2 separate regions of the Homo sapiens genome follow, and region 1 is linked to region 2. The links are contacts of gene promoters, found by promoter capture Hi-C in human tissues and cell types (Jung and others, 2019). All regions are on one chromosome and are shown on one strand. Each heading gives the region's core, a stretch centred on a gene start or on the middle of the fragment in contact. The rest is flanking DNA. Distances are from core to core; before and after follow the strand shown.

Evidence for each region. The method cuts DNA at HindIII sites, captures the fragments that hold promoters and counts their contacts. A contact is called where the count stands out against the background at its distance.
Region 1: a fragment that was not itself captured here is called in contact with the fragment with the promoter of SLC5A12 in region 2 in 2 of the 25 tissues and cell types used here (H1 embryonic stem cells and mesenchymal stem cells).

Annotation. Positions count from the first base shown.
Region 1 is chr11:27,150,527-27,155,363 of GRCh38, forward strand. BBOX1-AS1 (BBOX1 antisense RNA 1) reads right to left here. Exons shown (of 4, transcript NR_125768.1): 3 at 524-626. Among named protein-coding and RNA genes, the nearest start is that of BBOX1-AS1, 66 kb to the right of the region's middle. The HindIII fragment of the contact is 4,760 bases long and covers 1-4,296 here.
Region 2 is chr11:26,720,129-26,725,543 of GRCh38, forward strand. SLC5A12 (solute carrier family 5 member 12) reads right to left here and starts at 1,932. Exons shown (of 15, transcript NM_178498.4): 1 at 1,248-1,932. The coding sequence starts at 1,586. The HindIII fragment of the contact is 6,083 bases long and covers 1,916-5,415 here.

The sequences.
Region 1 (4,837 bases), core at 667-3,166, 430 kb after region 2:
TTACACATATGAGGAAAGGTTGCTAGAAGCAGCCAACCCATATCTTAAACACCTTTGCTCCTTAAAAATTTCTTCCACCAGTTACCCTAAATCATCTCTCTCAAGTTCAAAGTTCCACTGATCCCTAGAGCAAGGGCACAATATAGCCAGGCTCTTTGCTAAAGTACAGCAAAAGTGAGCTTTACTCTAGTTCTCAGTAAGTTCCTCATTTCCATCTGAGATCTCCTCAGCCTAGATGGACTTCATTGTCCACATCACTATCAGCATTTTGGTCACAACCATTCAACAAGTCTCTAGGTAGTTCCACACTTTCCCTCATCTTCCTGTCTTCTTCTGAGCCCTCCAAACTGTTTCAGCTTCTGCCTATTACCGAGTTCCAAAGCTGCTTGCACATTTTCAGGTATCTTTATAGAAATGCCCCACTCCTTAGCACCAATTTTCTGTATTAGTCAATTGTTACACTGCTATAAAGAAATATCAGAGACTGGGTAATTTATAAAGAGAAGAGGTTTAGTTGGCTCACAGTTCTGCAGGCTGTACAGGAAGCATCTTCTCAGCTTCTGGGGAGGCCTCAGGAAACACACAATCATGGCAGAAGGCAAAGGGGGAGTGAGCACTTCACATGGCTGGAGCAGGAGGAAGAGAAAGAAAAAGGAGTTGTTACACACTTTTAAACAACCATATCTCACAAGAACTCACTCACTATTAAAACGACAGTACCAAGGAAGAAATCTGCCCCCATAATCAAATCACTTCCCACCAGGCCCCACCTCCAACATTGGGGATTACAATTGAACATGAGATTTGAGTGGGGACACATATCCAAACCATATCACTAAGCAATGAAAGGGAAGATTCCAGAGGTAAAGCAGAAGGTCCAATCCCCCAACCAAAGTTAATTTTACATCTTCCTAACATACTCGACACTTACTTCTTCATCCTGTCTCCTAAGAGTTCCACTATCCATCCCATTGCTGAAGTCAGTAACCTATGAGCAATCCACACTTCTTCCAGTTCCCCACTCTAGATATCCACTCACCAAATCCCTTTGGTTTCATATATACAATGGTACTAGATTCTGCGTACCCTACTCCATTCCCACAGTCATTTTCCAAGTAGAGATCCTACTATCTCTTCCCTAGACTAGTATAATACCCTCCTCCCTAGCCTCCCTCTAATCTTATGGGAATGCCTCCCATCCATTCTGCCCTTGACAGCCAGATCAACTTCCAAAATGCAAATCCTACTGATCCATAGCCAGTAAGTACCCATATTGCCACACAATTGTTTAAGTCTGTGTGGTTAAAATACATACCACCTGCTAAATATTAAATGTTATCCTGGGAGTTGATCTTGCCACTCTCTTCCTTAAAACCACTCTCTTATTTAAAATGTGTTGCCTTCAGGATATAATTCAATGCAAAGCAGGAGAGATAATTTCCTAAAATACCATTTTTGTTTGTTATCTCCTTTACCATCTAATGCTGCTTCCAAACTGGTAACCAAGACTTGCAGTTCTTTGCCCTAGAGATTCTGATGGGAGAAAATTAGAAACTGGGGTCTTTTATAAATGTCTACATCTTTTGAAGAGTAGACAGTACTTAGATTACATTAGATCACCTGGAAGATGAGGAGACAGAACTGATGAGGTCATAGGAAACAATTGTAGGGCATTGGGGGTGAAATAGAAAAATGTATGCACAGTAGGAATCTAAACGCTACACCTCGAACAGTGCAGTAGAAAGGTAGAGAAGCCTCAGAATAAAAGGCGGAATGGTCCACCCAGAGAATCTAGATCCTAGACACTAGAGTTCCCACTTCAACAAAGAGTCTCATAGGTGACTACAAAGCCACAAACCTGCAGGAACCAAAAGGATATGAAGGCTGGAACAATGGGCTCTCCATGACAACCACTGTGGTCAGATGATTGATGCGCTAAAGGGTCTCTCTAAATGTGTGAACTTAGGAGCATGGGAAGCTCCAAGAATAATGAAAGTGTTGTCTGTCTCATGAGCTCCTAAGGCATCCTATCGTGGATCTTATTATGCTCAATGTAGCTACCATTTTTTGTTGCCATTTTTGGCTACCATTGTCAGCCCAGGTGATAGTAAACTTTTTCTGTAAAGGGCCAGACAGTAAATATTTAACCCCAAATTGTGACCAATACAGTCTGGCACAGCCACTCAACTCTACCATTATACGACAAAACAGCCAAAGACAATATGTAAATGAATGGGCACATCAGAGTTCCAATAAAACTTTATTTGCAAAAACAAGCAGTGGGGCAGATTTGGCCCAAGGGCCGTAATTAGCCAACTTCTAGTCCAATGTATTAAATTATAAGCTCACTGAGGTCAGAGATCATATCTTTTACTAAACCAGCAAAAATTTACTGAGAATTTACCATCAAAATCCGTGAAAAGCAGCCATCAGGACTTAGTAGTGATTAAGACAAAATATGTTCTCTAATGTAGCTTAGATTCTACTACAAAAGGGGAGATAGCACATAAATAAAATTAATATCTGAAAGCAACCAATCTTATTCACCAATGAGTCTCTACTGTCCTGCACAATATTCACTACCCACCAAGTACTGAGTATAAATTTGCTCAATGAATTTGCTCATGTCTAGTACTGTAACATTTTTGGCCAACCCTCAGCTCTTTCCTGCCTAAGCAGTTAGGGGCTTAAGCTGCTGAAACTTCCAAGAGGAAGTGGAGTTACAAGCTAGTCCTAAAGCAGCTGGCTCAATCACTCATTATTTTTAATGAAACCACAAGCCAGTGCCTGCCTCCAGCTCCTACCAGGAGCTGAAGAACTTCTTCAGTGTGGGCTCTCCTACAAGGACAAATCTGCTGAAGTAACAGGGAATGAACAGCTCTTGTGGTAAGCTGAGTAATGTCCCTCAAGGATATCCACATCCTTATCCCCTGAATCTGTGAATGTGTTGTCTTACATGGCCGAAAGGACTTTGCAGCTACAATAAAGTTAAGGATTTTCACATGGGGACAGTATCCCGTATAATCCAAACAGGCCCAATATAATCACAAAGGTCCTTATTAGAGTGATACAGGAGAGTCAAAGAGAAGCAAAGGTAAGAGGGGATGGGGTCAGGGGGGAGATTTGAAGATGCTGTATGGCTGGACTTGAAGGTGGAGAAGGAAGTCATGAGCCAAGGAATGTAAGTGGTCTCTAGAAGCTAAAAAAGGCAAGAAATATATTCTCCCCTAGAATCTCCAGAAGGAATGCACCCGGCTGATATCTTGATTTTAGCCCTTGTAAGACGCATTTCAGATATTTGACCTCCAGAACTACAGGATAATAAATCTGCGATAAGTGGTTACTGCAGCTAATAGAAAACTAACACAGTCCCTTGCCCCAAAACTGTCACAATTGAAGAGGCCTGCAAGCCTTTTGAGTCTTACGGTAGATGCCTTGACCTACCTGCACAAGCTTTGTGTTTGCAGCTCTCTTCCCAGAGGCAGCCTTGCAGAGATCCCCAGGCACCACCTGGGAGGCTGAGTGAAGCTGGGGCAGCCAGGATTGTTGCCCACTCTGTTCCTTTTTCCCCCTTCATGGGCCTTCTCCAGCTGCCCCATCAAATCCAGGCAAGGCTCTACAAGACTACCCTCCCCCACTTTCCACCTATGCCTCAACCTTAATTCACCCCAGGCCAGCAGAGCTGCATGTGTCTTTGTGAGAAATCACTGTTCTCAGGTACTTCTCCGTTGAGCAACTGGATATACCCAGACAGCCTAGGGAGTAAGTTCCCAGGGAGGTAAATGCCCACCTAGGACACATCAAACACACCTGTGTCAATTCCAAACTTTGAGTACAAAAAAAAAAAAAAAGGATTACTCAAGAAGGTGCTGATAAAACTTTAAATGTGTAGGTCTCCCAATCAGCATGTGCTGCCAAGAACACTTTCCTGTGGCTCCACCTCTCTCTACTCCCATCACTGAAATTGCACCTTTTTCATCAATGTAGGCCTTATTTCACAGATCTATAGGAAGAAGATTGGACTAGATAATTATTCTAAGGAATCATCTACTGCACCATGACCTGTGACCTAAATAGGCCTAAAAAACAGTTTTTCTTAATGGGTTTAAGCTGCTTTCCATTTTTTACCTCAGAGCACTGAGGGTCCTCTGCCCTAGAGTTCTTTCCATAGAGTTCTGCAAGGCCTGGTTTAGCCAGTTAGGCCAAAATTGTTTTCATGTGATGGGCTAAAACATAGAATTCCTAATATTGCTCAGTACACATTCTCTTTAACTGATTTGATTTTTATAAACCTAAACCTGTACCCACTTTTGTATCATTTTAGCTAGATTTATTCTTTGACTCTTTTATTCTTTTTGTGTTAACTTTTCTACTGTATTTTTTTTTTTTTTTTTTTTTTTTTTAGACACGGTCTTGCTCTGGCACTCAGGCTGGAGTGCAGTGGCATGAATTCTCAACCTCCTGGGATCAAGTGATCCTCCCACCTCAGCCTTCCAAGTAGCTGGAACTACACGTGCATGCCTCCACACAGAGCTAATTTTTTAAATTTTTTGCAGAGATGGGGTTTTGCCTCATTGCCCAGGCTGGTCTCGAACTCCTGGGCTCAAGCAATCTTCCCACCTCAGCCTCCCAAAGTGCTGGGATTACAGGTGTGAGCCACCACGCCTGGCCTTTTACTCTATTTTCATTGTTCTTAGTTTATTTTGCCTCCTTATGATTATTTATACTGCTTTCTTACCTCCATTCTTCTTAGGGCTTTATCAAGATTCCATTTTACTTGTTTTATCCTGTTTTTATACTAATTTTAGTTGCTTTAGCATTTTTAAATTTTTCTAAC
Region 2 (5,415 bases), core at 682-3,181:
TCTGCTATGAAGTAAGCTCCATGACAGCAGGAACTTGGTGCAATGCTTTATGCCTAGGGCTACGAGAATGCCTAGAACAAGCTGGGTGTGGTGGCAAACTTCTGTAGTCCCAGCTACTTGGGAGGTTGATTCAGGAGAATCACTTGAGCCCAGGAGTTTGAGAACGGCCTGGGAAACATAGCAAAAGCCCCATCTCATAAATAAATAAATAAATAAATAAATAAGTAAATAAATACATGGAAAAAAAGAAGAGTGCCTTTTTAAGTATCTTAAGAGTAGATGCTTAATGAGTATTTACTGAGTGAATAGTCATAAAAATTACATTACATAAAACTATGGAATCAATAACACTTTTTAAGACTTCCTAAAAAGTGTTCATTTGCCTGAGTGACTTTTGAAGGCTAGAATAATGTTTTATACTCATATAGCTTACATATTTAAAAAAAAATAGGTCTCTTTTCAGTCTCCTGCAGTGACTTTAGGAATGATATTGGATAATGAAAATAAATACCTTATTAATAGAAACTTATGTTTGATCACATTTCTATATAGAGCATGCAAATTCAATTTTGAACATGATGTCTTCATTGAGAATCATTGTAAAGCCAAAACACCACTGCCTCATTTCCCTCACATTAAATAATTCCCATATTTGTATTATTTAGCAATTCCTTTCGTTAAAATGTTTTGTACTTTTCAAAAATGTTTCCATTTCCTCATTAAAAATTAGTCTTATTATAATTTGTATTAAAATGCCCTCTACTCTCTGACGGAAAGGCCACTAAGTAGAGATACAGAAAAAATTAGGTTCTCAGGTCACTTTACTATTCAAAAATCTTAACTAAGTCATTTATCTGTATCTCAGTTTTCTTAGCTGGAAAATTGCCGTACTCATGAGAAATGTTCTGTTTGCTTTTCAGAATGATGACGTTCACAATAATAAAAAATAACATCAGCCCTCTTTATTGCAAACCTCCTACAAATGAGGCCATACATTAAGTGCTCACATAGAGGTTCTCATTTGATCATTAAAATAGCCCTGTGGGATTGTCATCATTATTTTCCTTCTACAGATGGGAAAATAGATATGTCTGTCTCCAAAGCTTAGGCTTTTTACAAAAACATTTTAATGTCTTTCTCATAATGTGTAATTATCCTGAAAATCAGTGAGTGTTCTTCAACTACCAGGTGCTATCATCAAGAGGATGAGAAAAAAAAATTAGAGAAGAATGGAGAAATCATCTTACCTCATAAGTGCTGGTGATACCAGATCTGTAGAACACAGGGAGAAAGAGCTCTGATGTTAAGAGGATGACAAATAGGTAAGCAATGAAGAAGACTAGGAAGGATGCCCCAAAGCGGTAGACTTCAGAAGGGGTCCCCAGGACCGTGACAGCTGACATGAAGCTGGCTGTCAGAGACAAGCCGACAGGGCCAAAGCTCATTTGCCTTCCCCCAACCAGGAACTCTCGGGAAGTTGCCTTTTTTCTCTCCTTAATGGCAAAGAACACCCCAATTCCAGAGGAAATGAAAAAGAGGGCTGCAAATACAACATAATCCCAAACTGCAAAGTTCTTCACCTCCATATTGGAAAGTATGACACCAGAGAGTTTCTTTCAACGAGGTCTCAGGAAGAAGATGTTTCCAAAAGCAAAGTTCAGTACAGTGGATGCTTTGCTGAGAGGAGAGACTGTGATTCCCTGAAGAAAATGATTACCAGAGGCACTCGTGTGAATCTTCAGACACCAACGTGTACTTAGTGAAGATCTCAAAAGTTGACTTCAAAGAAGAATCTGGTGGTGGTATTGGCACCAAGAGATGAGAATTTGAAATCTGACCCTAGCTAAGAGCTGTCTGCTCCTCTCCTAAAGCATATGCCACAGAGAAGGAATTCAGATGTGTTCTGAAATTAATAACCACTGGGGGTGGAATGGACTGGCCAGATAACATGCTGTTTTATCTCTTAGATTTTTTTTAACTTAAGGTTAAACATTTCTGGGAAACATAGAATTGATAACAATTTACCACCTCAGCATTTTTAATTCGTGAGATGGAATCTGTAAAATGCAAACACAATCCTCAGCAGTGTCTTCCTCTTGAAGAAGGGAGAGTGAAGGCTGTGTGCCTGCAATTGTCTGAGGCAGTGGATGTGGAGAGAAAGAAGCAAAGGACTAGGAATTCAGAGACCTTTGCTCGAGTCCTGGCTCAACCACGAGAAAGCCATGAAACATTTCATAAATCATTTAACATTTCTGAACTTCACCTGGAACACAGGGATAATAAGACCTTACAAGGTCTTTAAAGACTTAAGTCTTAAACTTCCTGACTCTCTTTGTCTTGATCTGTAAAATGAAAGGTAATAATATGTACCCCATTGGCTATTATCTGTGCTTACAGCAGAGCACTCTGGAACATCATAGCTTTTCTTTCTTTATTCTAGGACCTAGAAAAATCAATTTGCCATTAATTAATAAATTATTTATAGCCTTCAACTTTATCTTGTCTTTCTCTTATTTTCACCAGGTTACTATCACTGTACCCACAGGCTAAGTTAGAATTAGGACCAGGACAAATTAGAGAAGGAAGGTAACAATCCAGTTATAAATTCCTGTTTCTGCTCTCTTTAGACTCTGTCAATTGTTCCAAAGTACCTCTAGTGCAATTTCTAATTTTGTTCATGCTTCTCCTCCTTCTTCAGTGGCCTTCTCCATCCCCACCTCTACAAAGCTTGTGTATTCTACAAGATCTAGTATGAGTTTTCTCTACTCTGTGAAGCTTTTCTGCCTCTCCACGTCAACTCCTGTAGAACGTAGCCTCCCTAGTACTCATTTTGTACTCAGCCATCATCTTGCCTATTTTAGGGAATCTCTATGTAACCGGCTACAGGAGTCTGTCAGCTGTTCAAATGACATTTCCTTGAAGACAGAAGCAAAGCTCTAGTCCATATACCCAATACATTATAGCCATTGTAGAAAATAAAAAAAATAATTTTTAGAAAGGAGAAAACTAAAATTATCCATAATGCCCAAAGACAGAAACATTTCCAGCCAAACAATAAAACAAAAAACGCTCTAATTTTGCTTTTCACATCTGGATAACTGAATAAATCTTTGCTTCATGAATTTGAATTAGACCAAAGAAAGGTTTAATTAGATAGCTAAAGTATGCTTTTAGTTACCAATAAAAATATGAAGACTCTCCCAAGAGCTGTCTGTGTCCTCTGTTTAAATTCCTCCACTAGATTTGGAGATTTGATATGATAAATGTTACTGCAAATCTTGGTCTTTAATATATTTACCTTAACCTGGGCTTTTAATTATTTGTATCATGAAGTATTCCAATTATATATGAGGTTTTTGTTGTGATCTCAGCAGAAAATCAGAACTTTTTTAGCTTTCAGAAACTTGACTCCTTTATAGTTTAATATTTACACTACCTAATGGTTAATATTCAATCTATAAAACATGTAATCCCCTTGTATAAGTCAGGTTAAGAATGGTTCAAAACATTATCATCAATAACTTTCTAAAGGTACATACTAGAAACCTATAACAAAAGAGTTAATGAGTACTGATGGTTTTAATTAAACTTTGTGTAGTAACAGTATTATCTGCATGACTCCAATTAGTCTTGAATTTTGAAGTGGTAGGGAGCAGATTGGTTAATACCTGGGATATGAAGAAACCTTTATGCCTCTTAGGAAAGTATTCCTTGCTTTCAACATTTTGTTGATTATAAGGCACAGCATCAATTCAGTAATTTAATTTTCAGTTATTTTCTACATATTTACCCTTTTCTCCCTTTGGTAGCATTCGTTGTCCTCAAACGCTCTTCTTAATTCCATAAAGACTCACTCCATGCAAAGTTCATGCAGATTGTAAAGCACAGCAGCAATTCATAACTTTTCAGGTGAAAAAAAAAAAACCCCAGTACATTCAATGACCTCATTAATTAGAAGGCACATTTCTATATCAGAAATGTTAATATAGCGAGAAGGAGGGAAAATATGCTTCTTCGACCTGAAGAAATCCCTGTAGCGCCTCTACCCTCTCTCATGTGCACAGAATACTGCCATTTGTATTTGACTCATTTAGTGTAAGGCTTGAGACCCTGTCAGAATATAAACACCATCACCTGTTACTCATACATGGCCTTAACAAGGTCCTGCTACTCAATTACTCACATGCTTAACAAGTTAAATTTGTAATTGCTAACATTAGTAGTCTCCGCAAGGTAAAATAGTTCAGCAATTTGCATGCAACAAGTTGTAATGGGAAAGAAAGAGTTTGATGATATCAAATGCTACCAAAAGAGAAAAAGGTAAAGAACTGGAAGAAATGGGGCATTAAAAACAAAACAAAACAAAACAAAACAAAACAAAACAAAACAAAAAACACCATTGTTGCAATGTTGCTAAGAGTGAACTCTGCACACCATGGTTATTTTGGCCTGGGATCAAAGAGAAGAAAATGCACATGAACAAGCCTTGGTCATTTGAGACTAGACTTTCACTAAATTGGTGTCTTCCTTCATCTGTTCTCAAAGCCAATGGGAGTAGGAGTGGTGTACAAGAATAAAATGGCTATTATTTTGCTCTATTTTTATTTTTTATTTCATTTTTTTTTATTTTTTTGAGACAGAGTCTCACTCTGTCGGCCAGGCTAGCGTGCAGTGGCTCGATCTCAGCTCACTGCCAGCTCCGCCCCCGGGTTCACAGCATTCTCCGACCTCAGCCTCCCGAGCAGCTGGGACTACAGGCGCCTGCCACCACACCCAGCTAATTTTTTGTATTTTTAGTATAGACGGGGTTTCACCATGTTAGCCAGGATGGTCTCGATCTCCTGACCTCGTGATCCGCCCGCCTTGGCCTCCCAAAGTGCTGGGATTACAGGCGTGAGCCACCGCACCCGGCCCTGTTTTTATTTTAAACTAGGAAGTGGCAAGATTAAAACTATGTTTCAGAAAAATTATTATAATAATTTTTACATATTTCAGTCCAATGAATATTAAGGATGGCTCAAAGAATTCCTCACAATGTGAATAAGCTGCTTAATTGAGATAGTGAAAGTAGTCCTCCCCATAGAGCTTTCTCTCAATGAGCATGCCTATCAAACAAATTCCTGGGAGGCAAATTGGTGATGCCAAACTATACTTTAACAGAAATTATGGGTTAAAAAAACAAACTGCAAAGCAACTGTGGCCATTGCCTCCTTCCAGGAGGAATTGAGTAATTCCTATCCTGAAGAGGATAATTCAATATAATGCTTACTTCTGCTTACAGAGATTGATAGGGAAAAAACCATGTCCAATAATTTTATCATAAAAGACAAAAGACTGCAAATCCAGAAGTTCTCCTCTTCCTGTAAGCTATAAAAGATATGGCCTACAACAGCGGCTTCTTGATTGGCTGATATC